Regions from separate parts of the Homo sapiens genome. Here region 1 is linked to region 2. Evidence: promoter capture Hi-C in 16 types of primary human blood cells and fetal thymus (Javierre and others, 2016). All regions are on one chromosome and are shown on one strand. The core of a region is centred on a gene start or on the middle of the fragment in contact, and the rest is flanking DNA. Distances in the headings are between cores, read along the strand shown.

What was found. The method cuts DNA at HindIII sites, captures the fragments that hold promoters and counts their contacts. A CHiCAGO score of 5 or more calls a contact.
Region 1: a fragment that was not itself captured here is called in contact with the fragment with the promoter of IKZF3 in region 2 in 1 of 17 cell types (total CD8 T cells); the score reaches 5.1 in total CD8 T cells.

The regions. Positions count from the first base shown.
Region 1 is chr17:39,810,475-39,817,133 of GRCh38, reverse strand. The region is part of intron 3 of IKZF3 (IKAROS family zinc finger 3); the gene reads left to right. Among named protein-coding and RNA genes, the nearest start is that of IKZF3, 51 kb to the left of the region's middle. The HindIII fragment of the contact is 3,707 bases long and covers 2,947-6,653 here.
Region 2 is chr17:39,861,357-39,868,249 of GRCh38, reverse strand. IKZF3 (IKAROS family zinc finger 3) reads left to right here and starts at 3,938. Exons shown (of 8, transcript NM_012481.5): 1 at 3,938-4,130. The coding sequence starts at 4,124. It overlaps ZPBP2 (zona pellucida binding protein 2), which reads right to left and starts at 48. Exons shown (of 8, transcript NM_199321.3): 1 at 1-48. RefSeq lists enhancers at 689-768, 3,180-3,239, 3,300-3,369, 4,097-4,186, 4,197-4,316 and 2 more and a silencer at 779-994. The HindIII fragment of the contact is 8,560 bases long and covers 1-6,059 here.

The DNA of each region.
Region 1 (6,659 bases), core at 3,551-6,050, 52 kb after region 2:
TATTTTTTCTCTTGCGGAAAGACAGACTAATTTCTAGGGGAAAAGGCTTTACCCAACTAGAGTAAGTTTGGAAAACAAAACAAAAATACTTGGAAAAAACTTTAAAAAACTATTAATATTGGCCAGGCATGGTGGCTCAGGCCTGTAATCCCAGCACTTTGGGAGGCCCAGGCAGGCAGATCGCCTGAGGTTAGGAGTTCAAGGCCAGCCTGGCCAACATGGTGAAACCCCGTCTCTACTAAAAATACAAAAATTAGCTGGGCGTGGTGGCGCATGCCTGTAATCCCAGCTACTCGGGAGGCTGAGGTGGGAGAATCTTCTGAGCCTGGGAGGCAGAGGTTCCAGCAATGAGCTGAGATCGTGCTCAAGCCTGGGCGACGGAGTGAGACTCTGTCTCAAAAAAACAAAAACAAAACAAACAAAAGTATTAACTTTGAACATAAATACGCTTGCTTGTGATCCCACAGACATTGTGGTAATTTTTTACAGTATATTCCCAGGAGCCTAGTGCAGGTATTGGCAAACTTTTTCTGTAAAGGACCAGATAGTAAATATCTTAGGCTTTGTGGGCTATACAATCTCTGTTGCATCTTCTCAACTCTGCCATTGCAAGGTAAGACAACTGTAGAAGATACATAAATGAATGTGAGTGGCTTTGTACCAATAAAACTTTATTTACAAAAATAGGCAGTGGGTTGGATTTGACCTGCAGGCCATAATTCCCTTACTCCTAACCTAGTGTATACATTTATTGTATGATGAGTTAAGAAAAGATTTGGCACTTGAAAGGAACAGTGTTTGTGTAACCATTTCAAAAGGGCATCAGTGAGGATTCTAATACTATTATTTTAAAAATCAGAAAAATATATATCACTAACAGCTTTTTATCACATGCATGTATAGTTGATATAGCTCTATTTACATAAATTAATTAGACATAAATAAAACCATATGTAGACTAAATGTTGTGTTACCATTTAGTTGGTTTTCTCCTTTATTCCTGAAAATTTAAATCTAACAAGCACTGGCAAATATTTACATCAACTCAAGTTTATTTCCTCCAGGAGGCCTTTTTATACTATCCCACCTTCCACAGTGTGGTCTCAGAGCTGAATTTTTAAGAGTATGTTTAGTTAGTACTTATTTAAACACGTAATTATATTCTGTTCGAAATTGTTTGTGCATGACAAGGTTTCACCCCATTATATCATAAACTTTTTGAAAAAAGAAGCCCTAACCTATATTTACATCTTTCTAAGAATACTTACCTATGAAGTGATATAATCCAACCAGTTTGGAAAGCAGAAGAAATGAAGAAATTCAGAGTTCTTTTTCTAGCCTGCTCATTCACTCTTATGAACAATTATTATTTCTCTTCCTCTTAGTGACCAACTGTAACTATCTTCAGACTGATCTTGAGCCATAGGAAATAACCCAGAGATCCCCAAGTCTTTATTTTTGTTTAGCATCCAATGAGTGCTGGGAATATCACAGCCACTTTACTGAATACAAAAGATTTGGGACCTTCTACTTGGATCTAAAATGTCAGCAAGATACTGTGATGTCAAAAGCAAGAGTTAAAACAATTTTATAAAATATCATGAGAAAGAATATTATTGTTGCTTATATCTTGGCCTATGATCACAGAGCAACTAAAAAATAAAAACCTCTGAGTATCAAGGCTAGAGGGAAGATGTGTTTCATGCTAGTGTACTGAGGGATATTAACTAGGTAGAGATAAGACTCGAGATGGTGGAATGTCATCCCAGCAAGGCAATTGTCATGCACAAACAATTTCAGAGAGAATGTAATTAGGTGCTTAAATTAGTGGAAAAGACATGGCCTTAAGGCCTGAACGACTGAAATAGAACTCTTGCGACTTTTTGTTTCAGTCCTTCTTCCTCTGAAATTGGATTCCCGTCTTTGCCATTTCCCACTTAGAAAATAGAAGGAAAGGTTCTGTCATGAGCATGTATATGTTATGAGGGTATGATGCATTTGCCGATAGTATTTTTTCCTCTTTGAATAGCTGAGGAATAAAAGTTGGGCTACTGACCCCCTGTATTTAACACTCTACTGGCCCCCTATTTTTCAGCAGCCCCCATCATCCACTATCTCTATTTACACAAGCCATTTGTTCTGGAGCTGCTGTAGGGGTAAAAAGTACACACGATACCTCGATACCCATCAACACTAGCTGTTTACCCTGCCTGAGTTGCACATTTACCCTCTGTCTTAGTTTTCCAGGGCTTCCATAATAAATTACCACAAACTGGGTGACAAAACACCAGTTTGTCACAAAGCAACAGAAATTTTTTACTATTCTGGAGGGTAGAAGTTCAAAATTAAGATGTCAGCAGGACCATGGGAAGGGCCTAGGGAAGAGTTCTTTTTTGCCTCTTTCTGGCTTCTGGTGACTTCCAGCAATGCCTGGTGTTCCTTGGTCATGGCAGCATAACTCTAATCTCTGCCTCCATTGTCACGTGGGCTTCATCTCTGTGGGCATCTCCTGTTTCTGTCCTCCTCTAGGGAGACTAGTCATTGGATTTAGGGCCTACCCTAATCCAGTGTGACCTCATCTTAACTAATTACATCTACTATGACGATATTTCCAAATAAAGTCACATTCTGAGGTTCCAGGAGGACATGAATTTAGGAGGGACACTATTCAACACAGTACACCCTTCATCTCCTGGCTCTGTAACTAAATATCAAATAGACCCAATACCCATCATGAAATAGATTTCTTTTTTAATTAATTGTGCAGTGGTGATCAATCGGTGTATGTATTTAATTACTTCCATTCTGTACAAGCTATGGGTCTTGCCTGATTCCAAGAGAAAAGTTGAATTTGATCACTTTTGAAAGGCCTTATATTTTCTCCATTGTGACATCTTGTGCAGTGTAGATGCTTAGATCAAAGATAAGAACTTTAATTAGAAAGCTTGCTGAAAAAAATAATTCTTCTTCCCCTTAGGAGAAATAACTCCCATCTTCAGTAGCTTCCCATGGCATAGTCTCGGTCCCTTTTGAGGTGTACAACTCTTTGGTGCTTAGAAGAAGTACAAACTACTTTGATGCTTCTGAAAGGGGAAAAAAAATTAAGCCACATGTGTGGTTTATGGATGCTAATTACCGCCACATTTAGATGTGTGAAGAAGGGTGGCTGGAGCGAGCTGGGAGAGACCGCGTCAGCCTCGCTTAGGCACTCGCTGAGGCTCCCGCGGTACTGCTTAGTACACGCAAATATATGCTTCAAAAGGAAGTGCCGTTTTTTATCAAAATATTACATCTCTCAAGCCCAGATCAAGACCTGTCACTCATGGGATGCAGGGGTTATCTTACAAAATCAGCAGTGCTGTGCTGCAGAAGTTCACTCACAGGGGATTTCTGTAAGTGCTTACCATGGGCAGAGCTTTACAGCTTGTACTGTGTCAAACGGGTAAGTTCTGTTGATGATAAAACCAAGACATCTCTCCCTGAATCTTTTTTTTTTTTTAATCACGCTGTCACCCAGGCTGGAGTGCAGTGGCACGATCTCGGCTCACTGCAGCCCCAACCTCCCAGGCTCAAGTGATCCTCCCACCCGAGACTCCAGAGTAGCTGTGACTACAGTTGCATGCCACCATGCATGGCTAATTTTTTTTTTTCTGTAGATACGGGGTCTCGCTATGTTGCCCAGGCTAGTCTCAAACTTTTGGACTCAATCAATCCTCCTGCCTTGGCTTCCCAAAGTGCTGGGATTACAGGTGTGAGCCACTGTGCCTGGCCCTTGAAACTTTTTAACAGAAAACATCTCTGGATTTTCTTTTCTTCTTTTTTTTTTTTTTCATAACTAAGCTGCGTAGCACAGCAAACTAAAAGGAATGTGTAGGAAGATATTTGACATCTGCCAAAGAGCCACAGACAGTTGCAATGGTTAACAGAAAAATGGGGCTGCCCACTGTCCTTAGTGGATCCTCTGGAGAGTTTTCTCCCTTCTTTTTGCATTCTTTTTATTTATTTATTTATTTATTTATTTATTTATTTTTTGAGATGGAGTCTTGCCCTGTCGCCCAGGCTGGAGTGCAGTGGTGCGAACTGGGCTCCCTGCAAGCTCCACCTCCCGGGTTCACGCCATTCTTCCACCTCAGCCTCTAAAGTAGCTGGGACTACAGGCGCCCGCCACCACACCCGGCTAATTTTATTTTTGTATTTTTAGTAGACACGGGGTTTCACCGTGTTAGCCAAGATGGTCTTGATCTCCTGACCTCGTGATTTGCCCACCTCGGCCTCCCAAAGTTCTGGGATTACAGGCGTGAGCCACTTCGCCCTGCCTCTTTTTGCATTCTTTGTCTGTTAAGCAGTAGTGTTGGTGCCTCCTTCCAGCTGGATTAAGAGAACGCATGAAACACCCTTATGTGCCTGCTAACTTTCATAGCAGCTTTTCTTGCCAAGTGAGTTCTGCTTCTCAAATAAACTTTGGCACCAGGCACGGTGACCCGAGCCATTGTGTACCTTGGTGCCATTTGATAGCTAGAGGAAGGTACCCTGCTGAGGGATAAATGAGGAGTCCCAGTGGTGTGCCAGAATCAGCTCATAGCTGCTTGTTAAATTTTCAACAATTTTGTATGCTGGCTGACTCCATGATGGTAGCTTGAAATTGGCCATGGTGGAGTATTTATACCACTGAAATCAGCAAATGCCACAAATAAGCCCTTCCCCGATCCTGAGCTGGTTGTTAAGCAATTACCAGAACACCACTGGACTGAAGACTGAACAAAATCCTGTCCTGGCTCATCAGAACTATCAAATTTTTTGTAATTTGTCAGCCCAAAGGGATTTTGGGTTTTGGGTGTTCTGTTTTGTTTTTGTTTTTGTGTTGTAGTTTGCATGAAAGAGAATAGTGTCGGAGACAAGAAGAGTACATGAGCTCTCTCCACAACATAGTAGATGGGATCCCGAAATTTTATCTTGTAAAATATGGGGGTCATATTATTGCAAGTAAATGAAATATAGTAGGTGGTTTTGTGTTTTGTTTTGTTTTTAATATACTGTTACAAAAAGCACAAAGCAATGACAGTGAAGTTTAAACTGGACACAATTGTAAACCTTAAAAGACCCAAATGATCTTGAAGCAATTACTTCCTATCCATTCCCATAAGAACTTTAGCTTGCTCTTGTCTGAGAAGTGGGCAAGGGTAGACAACTGGAGGCAATCAGCAATCCTTTTACATCCAAATTTGTACACATTGTATTGTGGCAGGGTGTTATTGTACTTGATTGTGTCCCAAAGACATGGCAAGAACAGTCTTTTATAGTTGTGTTCTTTTGTGCCAAAGTTCTGGGAATATAGTAAATGCTCAGTGTTTATCCATTTTTCTTTCTGCCTTTCCATCCAACCATCCATTCATCCATTTATCCCCTGCAGTGTTCACAAGTGCTCACTAAATAATTATTGGTTCATTAACTAAAGTGAAGAACAGCATGTGAGTACATTTTGGCATTGGGGTCTTTTATTTTAGTAGTGTTCTTGAAATGCTGGGAAAACTTTCCAAGGATTGCATGGGATAATTTTAAGAGAATCAATTTCCAGGTCCGCAACTTCAGTATATTCTCTGCCCTTCTTCCTAAAACTGATCTGCCTAGAAGACTGCTGCCATTGAGCTTGCTTGCTTTTTCTTTTCTTTCTTCCTTTCTTTCTTTCTTCCTTCCTTCCTTTCCTTCCTTCCTTTTCTTCCTTCCTTTCTTCCTTCCGTCCTTTCTTCCTTCCTTCCTTCCTTCTTTCTTTCCCTTTCTGTCTTTCTTTCCCTTTCTTTCTTTCTTTCTTTCTTTCCTTCTCTCTTTCTCTTTCTCTTTTTTTATTTCCTCCCTTTCTCCCTCTTTTTCTTTCTCTCCCTCTCTTTCTTTCTTTCTTTCAGACAGGGTCTTGCTCTGCTGTCCAGGCTGGAGTGCAGTGGTGTAATCACAGTTCACTGTAGCCTTGACCTCGTGGGCTCAAGCAATACTTCCACCTCAACCTCCTGAGTAACTAGGTCTACAGGCACCCACCACCATGCCCTGCTAATTTTTTAACTTTTTGTAGAGGGGTCTCACTGTGTTGCCCAGGCTGGTCTTGAACTCCTAGACTCAAGTGATCTTCTCGCCTTGGTCTCCCAAATTGCTGAGATTACAGGCATAAGCCACCATGCCCAGCCTTCCTTCTCCACTTTATAAAAGAAAAGAACATTTCTCACCCACCTCTAAGGTGTAAGTACTTCCAAGATGCCAAACAAAGGATCAATTAGATAATTTCTTTTATCAAATTTTCATAACTTATTTCCTCTCTATCCTTCTCATTAGGAGATACAGTCCCAATAAATTTTACTTTTTGTATTTGGTAATTATTGATCAAATTATAATATACCTATATTGTTTTACTCAATTGTATGTTAATAATTGTAATGCTAATTCAATCCAGAAGAAAACACATTTTGACACATAGCACTTCATGTTAACAAAAGTAACTATATTTTATTGGGTTTTTTTTTTTTTTTTTGCTGCAGATACATATAATGGGATGAACAATAGATGACTCAAGCATACAAGAGTACTACATTAGGAGAAAATTCCATGGGGGTAGTGAAATGGAAATAGAAGTTCAAAGAGAAATTTCCTGACTTTCTTGAAAAGCTTACTTA
Region 2 (6,893 bases), core at 2,689-5,188:
GGGGTCGCCTCCCCTACCCGTCCGTCGCAACGGCGGGAGCGGACGCGCAGGAGAACGCGTGCGTGCTTCGATTCTCGCGCGCGGGGGCGGGGCGACGGCGCTGCAGGCGATCGCCAGATCCTCTGGCGCCCACGCGGCAGCAGGCATGCGAACTTTTCGCGCCTCGCGTCCGGCGCCATTTTCCCGCGCTCCTGGCCCCTTGCTCTCTGAGCGGAGCGGAAGGCAGGAAGAGAATAAAGGAAAAGAAGCCACGGTGTCGCGTTCCGGGGATTCCCCAGTCTAGGGGCCGAAGGGATCAAGGAGAGAACACCGCGAGGTCCCAAGGACCGTGGTGGGGTAGGGCGGCTAGGGGATGCGATGAGGAATCCCCTAGGAAGGGGACCTGAGGAAGGCAGAGACTTGTGACAATTTCCTCCTCACGTGAAGCAGAAAGGCCCGCGTGGGGATTTCCTACGCCTCTCTTCTCATGAACGCTGAAACTGGGTGTCGAATCTCTTTCAAACTGACACGCGATTTTTACCTAATTGCATTCTTTACCAGCAAGACCAAGACCCAGAAGAGCCACTACTGAGCCAAGAAGGCGCTTCCGGGCCTTCCCACTCTAGAGGAACGTTGAATCTTCATTTTCACTTCAAGTATGAGGCGATGTGAGAGACCTCCCCCAGTGCAAACGTATCTAGGTTGATGAAGTGACCTTGCTTTAAAAATGGGCCCAATTGTAAGGCCCATTGGCCTTTTCTGTAGGGATGGAGCCCGATTGGCCTTTTCTGTAGGGATGGATGACTAGTCAAGATCGGGGAGCTCCAAAGGGGATCATGCCCGCGTCTTTGATGGTTCCTTCTTGGCTACTAGTTTGGTGGCCCGAAAGGCCCTGTGTGTTGTCTGTTTCTTAGCAGCGGGACACCACTCTCAGTAGTGGTTTTGAGTAGGCTGGTTAGTAGAGAGAGCCCAAGGTTCAGACAGGGTGCAGAATGGTTATTTTGGGTGAGATCAAGAGTTTTCGGTTTTATTTCCTTTGAGCCGAGTCAGTACTTGGACTCTCTCATATGGTCCAGGAGCAAACTTTGTCAGTAATTTCATTTTTAGTCACTGTTAATTTTACCTATATAGCATAAGCCATGAAATGTGACTCAGTGAGTCAGATCCACCCATTTTCAGTTACCATGTCTGGATACATGGTCTGGTCTCAACTGTTCTCTTCTTAAGGTGATGATAATGAAGACAGATTTAGGCATTATCTTTGATTCCCTACAAGTTCTTCATTCCAGTTTTAGTCAAAGTACATTATATATCCACAGTGTGTTTTATTGACTTTTTGGTTACTGTAAGTAATTGATAGTTGTAAATCCTGTGTGATAAACTAAATCCTATGAGAGGAGACTTAACCAAATGAGTAATAGTTGTCAAAAGTACCCATCCACTCTTTTTATATAAACTTTTTATTTTAGAAGAGTTTTAGATTTGCAGAAAATTTGCAAAAACAGTACAGAGAGTTTTTACATACTCCCTCCCGATTTTCCCTATTATTGACATCTTACATTGGTATGGTACATTTCTTACAATTAATGAACGGATATTGATATATTACTATTAACTGAAGTCCAAACTTTATTCAGATTTCCTTAGTTTTTTACTCAATGTCCTCCCTACCTCGTTTGTTTTTTTGCTCCAGGATCTCATGCGGGATCCCACATTACCTATAGTCATCGTATCTCCTTAGATTCCCCTTGGCTGTGTCAGACTTTTCTTGTGTTTGAAGGTCTTGACCTGGCTTTAATTGGTGAGGTATTTTGTAGAATGCCTCTCTACTGGAATTTGGTGTCTTTCTCCATATTAGACTAGAATTATGGATTCTTAGGAGGAAGATTACAGAGATAAAATGACATTCTCATCACATCATATCAAGGGGACATACTATCAACATGCCTTATCACTTGATGTTAACCTTGGTCTGCTGGCTGAGGTACTGTTTGTCAGGTTTCTCCACTGTCAACTTATTCCCCTGCTTTCATACTATACTCTTCGGAAGGAAGTCACTTTGTGCACCCACACTTAAAGAGTGGGGATTTATGCTGCATCTCCTTGAAGGTGGAGTAGCTACATAAGTTATTTTACCAATTCACTTTTAATCCCCTTAGGTATCACTCTCGGGAGTCCGAAATACTCAGTATTGAACTATTTACAGAGTACTAACACGTTCCACTGTCAAATATACAGAAGAACATTGTAATGGAAAATCATAAAGTTTCCTTACAACTTTTTTTTTTTTTTTTTGAGACGAAGTCTCACTCTGTTGCCCAGGCTGGAGTTCAGTGGCAAGATCTCGGCTCACTGCAACCTCTGCCTGCTGGGTTCAAGCGATTCTCCTGCCTCAGCCTCCTGAGTAGCTAGGATTAGAGGCATGCGCCACCACGCCCAGCTAATTTTTGTATTTTTAGTAGAGACAGTATTTTGCCATGTTGGCCAGGCTGGTCTCGAACTCCTGACCTCGTGATCCACCTGCCTTGGCCTCCCAAAGTGCTGGGATTACAGGCGTGAGCCACTGCGCCTGGCCTACAACTTTTTCATAACCAAATAACTTTTCATCCTCATACCATCCCTGTGAAATTTTACAGTTCCTCTTCTGCTACTTTTGATGTGCTATTTTTGCTTTTAGAAACTAACAAACAACAAATTTCCCCTTTCAGTACTAAAATTAGACCTAGTGTTTAGAGTATTTCTCCAAAATTGACATCCTGCAGAACTCCCAACTCATACAGTTATAGAGATGCTACTGTGGTGCTTAAAGCCAGTGTAGTTTTTCACCCACTTGAATATATATACACACATCACATAGACTGCCTATACCAACGACATACTATTGTTTAAAGCTACAATTCATAAAATTACAGCATGTATACTTTAACTTGTAAGTGTGGGTTTCTTCTGATATGGACAGCTGATGCACAAACCCTCAGCCTTAAGTCTCAAATATATTTGTATGCACTAATATAATTTTCTAATAGCGGTGACAGTGGCCTTTTGAGACTCATTCGTATATTGTCCCACACGCTGGATATCTTTAGAAGGGCTCACCTGAACAATGTCCCTTAGACCTCAATGTGAAGAAAAGTTCTGCTTTGAAAAACAGTTTTGTGGTCACTTCCCCTTTCCTCTCTCTGCAGTCAAATGTGTGCTTTACCTCTGGACAGTAGGGAGGGTGTTGGGAGAAGATGTTGACTGATACATATCTGTATACTAACATCTTTAAGTTAATTTTACAATCTTACTGCCCCCACCTTCCACCCTTAGCTCTACTTTCTTTGCTTAATTTTCTGGTACATCATATATGTATTTTTGTAAGGTGTGTATTTAGAAGAAGGCAGGCTGGGAGAAAATAAACACACTCTATAAAACACTCCCTCTATTTATATAGAGTGGGTAGTATTGCGTGAGTGGTGGCAAATAAATCAAGCAGTTCCCAGAGGGAAAACAAAAGTGAGATAAATGCTTCCAAAAATTAAAAAGTTGAATTGATAGAAGTGCCAAAATCCTTTCCAACTGTCTGAAAACTTGGACCAAAAACTTTTACCATGTGAAATGAAAAAGTGAGGAAGGAAAAAAAAATACTTTGAAAGAAGGGGGTTCTCATTGATACTTTCCACGGCTGTTATCACTGAATCTAGACAAAAAGTTCCAGATCTTCCTCAATTTAAGATAAACGTCTTTGAACTTCAGCTTGCCAAGAAAGCAAGGCTGACCCCCGACCCTCCGTGTGATGTCACTTTTCTCATCCATTATCCTTCTAAAATAGACATTTTGAGACAATTTAGTGATGCGACATTTCCATCCTGTCGGGGTTCCTTGGGTTTGACATTCGAAAGGGGGCTGGAGGCGCGGAACCCGCGGCACTCCGCGGCCAGCGTCCTTTAAAGCCGCCGCCAGCCAGCGCCGCTGTAACCCCGCGCACCGGCAGGTCGCCGGCTCCTGCCCTTTTCAGTCTGCGCCGACGCGGCTGCCGGATCCCGGGGACTCCCCGCGCCGGGAATCTCCCGCCAGCTGCGCGCTGAGTCCAGGCGACGGCAGGAGCACGTGGAGAGGCCGAGTAGCCACAGCGGCAGCTCCAGCCCGGCCCGGCAGCGACATGGAAGGTGAGCCTCCAGCCCGCTTCTTTTCTCCGGGGTCTTTGAGAAACTTAACCTGTGCAAGCAGTAGAAAGAGTTTCTTCTGAATCTCAGTTTTGCTTCTATTTACTTCTTTTGTCAAAAGTAAATATGAGGTATTTCAGAGGACAAAGCGCGTCGGTTCTCTTAACGTCTCTCACTTGTCCTTCCCCCGCCCTTTGGAAAGTGATAACTTCTTCGCAATTTTATTTCTAAAGAGTTGTCAGACATGGGGGGTCTACCCTACATCTGCAGAGGAAGAGCACTTAAGGGGTGTCCCTGAAATGGCTGCAAATCTGGGGTGGAATAATCAACCCTTTTGGATATTTTTTCCTTCATGGCCTCAGTGTTTATTGGAATTAGACTAATCTGAGTAACTTGTTTTCTTCCAAGGGTAAATGGTGTCATATGGGAAAGGTACATTTTAAAGCGGTTGGCATTTGCAGTTCCCTTGGAACTCGATCTTCTAATGAGTCTTCTTTACCCAGCGCAAAAAATCAGGTTCACATTAGGAGTTTCATATGAATTAATTTTGAAAGTCGTAACACTATCCTTGCTTCTCAAACATTTTTCATTCTGTACTTCCTTGGGATACCTAAAATTTCACACTGCTACTGTAAACTCTTCAATGGTCTTTTCAACAAGTGTTTCTAAAACCTTGAAAATGGCAAATGCATCTCAACTCGGGGGGGGATGGTGGGATTAAGAAATTCAGAATTTCATTCTATTAAAAATGAGATATTGACACCTAACTAAAATGTTACTTTGATAAATATGAAGATCGTGGGTATTTTCTTCATAATAATGGAAGAATCTCTAATTAACAATGAACTGATCTTTGGCAGCTTTATTTCTAGAGTATATAAAGTTGTTAAAATATCAAAAACTTTATGCTTTTAATTTTTTTAATTAGGGCTTGAAAACTTTAAAAATTTTGCATTTTTAACATTTAAATAATGGTTTATTGAAGTGTAATTTTTAACAAAGGTTTTATTGGCCAATAACAAGGAAAAAAAGTTGGGCTGTTGTATACTATGGGAAAAATAATTTTTGAAAAGCTCATATGCTTTAATTATTACAAATGATTAATTTGTTTTTATGAAATTATAAATCAGTACTCCAACACTATTTTTCCTAGCCGTAACCATACCACGTATCAAGGATAATGTACAGAATCATGTAAATCCATAGAAACTGGAGTATTTCTCTATAAATGTTAATACTTCCAAATTCATTTATTTAATGTGCAATAAAGAAACTAAATAGCATATCTTAGGTTATTGGTGTACTAACACAGATGTTTAATAAGCCTGAAGACTCCCTTAAGAAGAAAAGAATGAAAACTTGTGTAGAATTTAATTTAGAGTGTGTAGACTATAAATGGAAAGAGAATGTAGATCAATAACTTTTTAAAGTTGTGTTTACATGATTAGATTAAATCTATAGGTCCATGGAGATAGATAGTATAGATTATGCTTAATGAAAAAACTTTAACATTTAAATTTTAAAAAGAGGTTAATTATATGAATTTGGCTATTTTAATGTCAGGTCCTTGCGTATAGAGTATTTGATGTGGTAAAATATCTGGTTCATTATAGCTACCCAAAATAGACTAATCTGGCCCATGTTTTTGATATTTAAAAAATTTTTATATCATCTTGTGGTTTTGATCTCAGTCTAGATTAGAGATTTGGTCTATAGTGTATACCTCTCTTGGCAATGTAAGAAAGTAGAATACTTCATGGAATACCTTTATTTTCTGCCCAATTTGGGGGTCACATTGATTCATAACAGTTTATTGTACAATGCAATACTGTATATCATTCCTTCAGCATATAAAGTCATTTAACAAATTCATTTATCTTTTAATTAATTTATTGAGACTTTCTATGTATGAAGATGTCAGATGAATAAGCTTTTGAAATAGAAATCTTGTAGAAATGAAGATTTAATGAATATACTAAAATCAGAAGCTATAACTTTTTAATTTTCTCACAATCTGTGACCTTAAATATTTTCTACCCAAAGACTGTTTATGAATCACTAAATTTTATTATTTGTACTATAACATCTCTTCTGTCTGTTATGGTCGGGAAATGAGGTGGTTCACAAACATGAATTTCACAGGTAATGGCAGACTTCTTATTTAATGTAAAACATTTTTATTTTTAACAATATTGAGTAAAGATTTTTCTAAGTATATTTATTACACAGCTCCCTGCTTTATAAGCAAGGTACATAAGAGATAAGTTTATCTCGGCAACTCTGAGTTACTGTTCTCACCATCAGATCATATATTATTCCATAATATATTCTCACAGGGGTTTTGAGCTGAATGCCCCTACACCAAACATACCTAGGATATTGTACAATTTTTGTCTCCTTCTTGATGTCAGCTTATATTTCTTACCACATAGATTTTGTGGTAGTAGGGTTTTGTTTCAGGTCCCTTTCCATGTTCTGGATGGCTGAGATTAACAGAGATAAAGCCTGTAGATGATGGAATCTGTTTGCCCTCCATTGTGAGCGTATGGAGGATGAAATGCGAAGGTTTTAAGAAACAAAAGCCACAGAAAGGCCGTGGCGTCCTGGTAGAACATAATTTTTCAAAATTCCTGTTTGTACTTCCTTTAATCCAGTATGCTATTTCATGCTTCCATGTCTTTGCTATTATGTTCACCCATTCTCTACTTGCTTATGCCTACTCATCTTTCAAGACTCTGCTCAGGCATCATCGCCATGAAGGCTCTC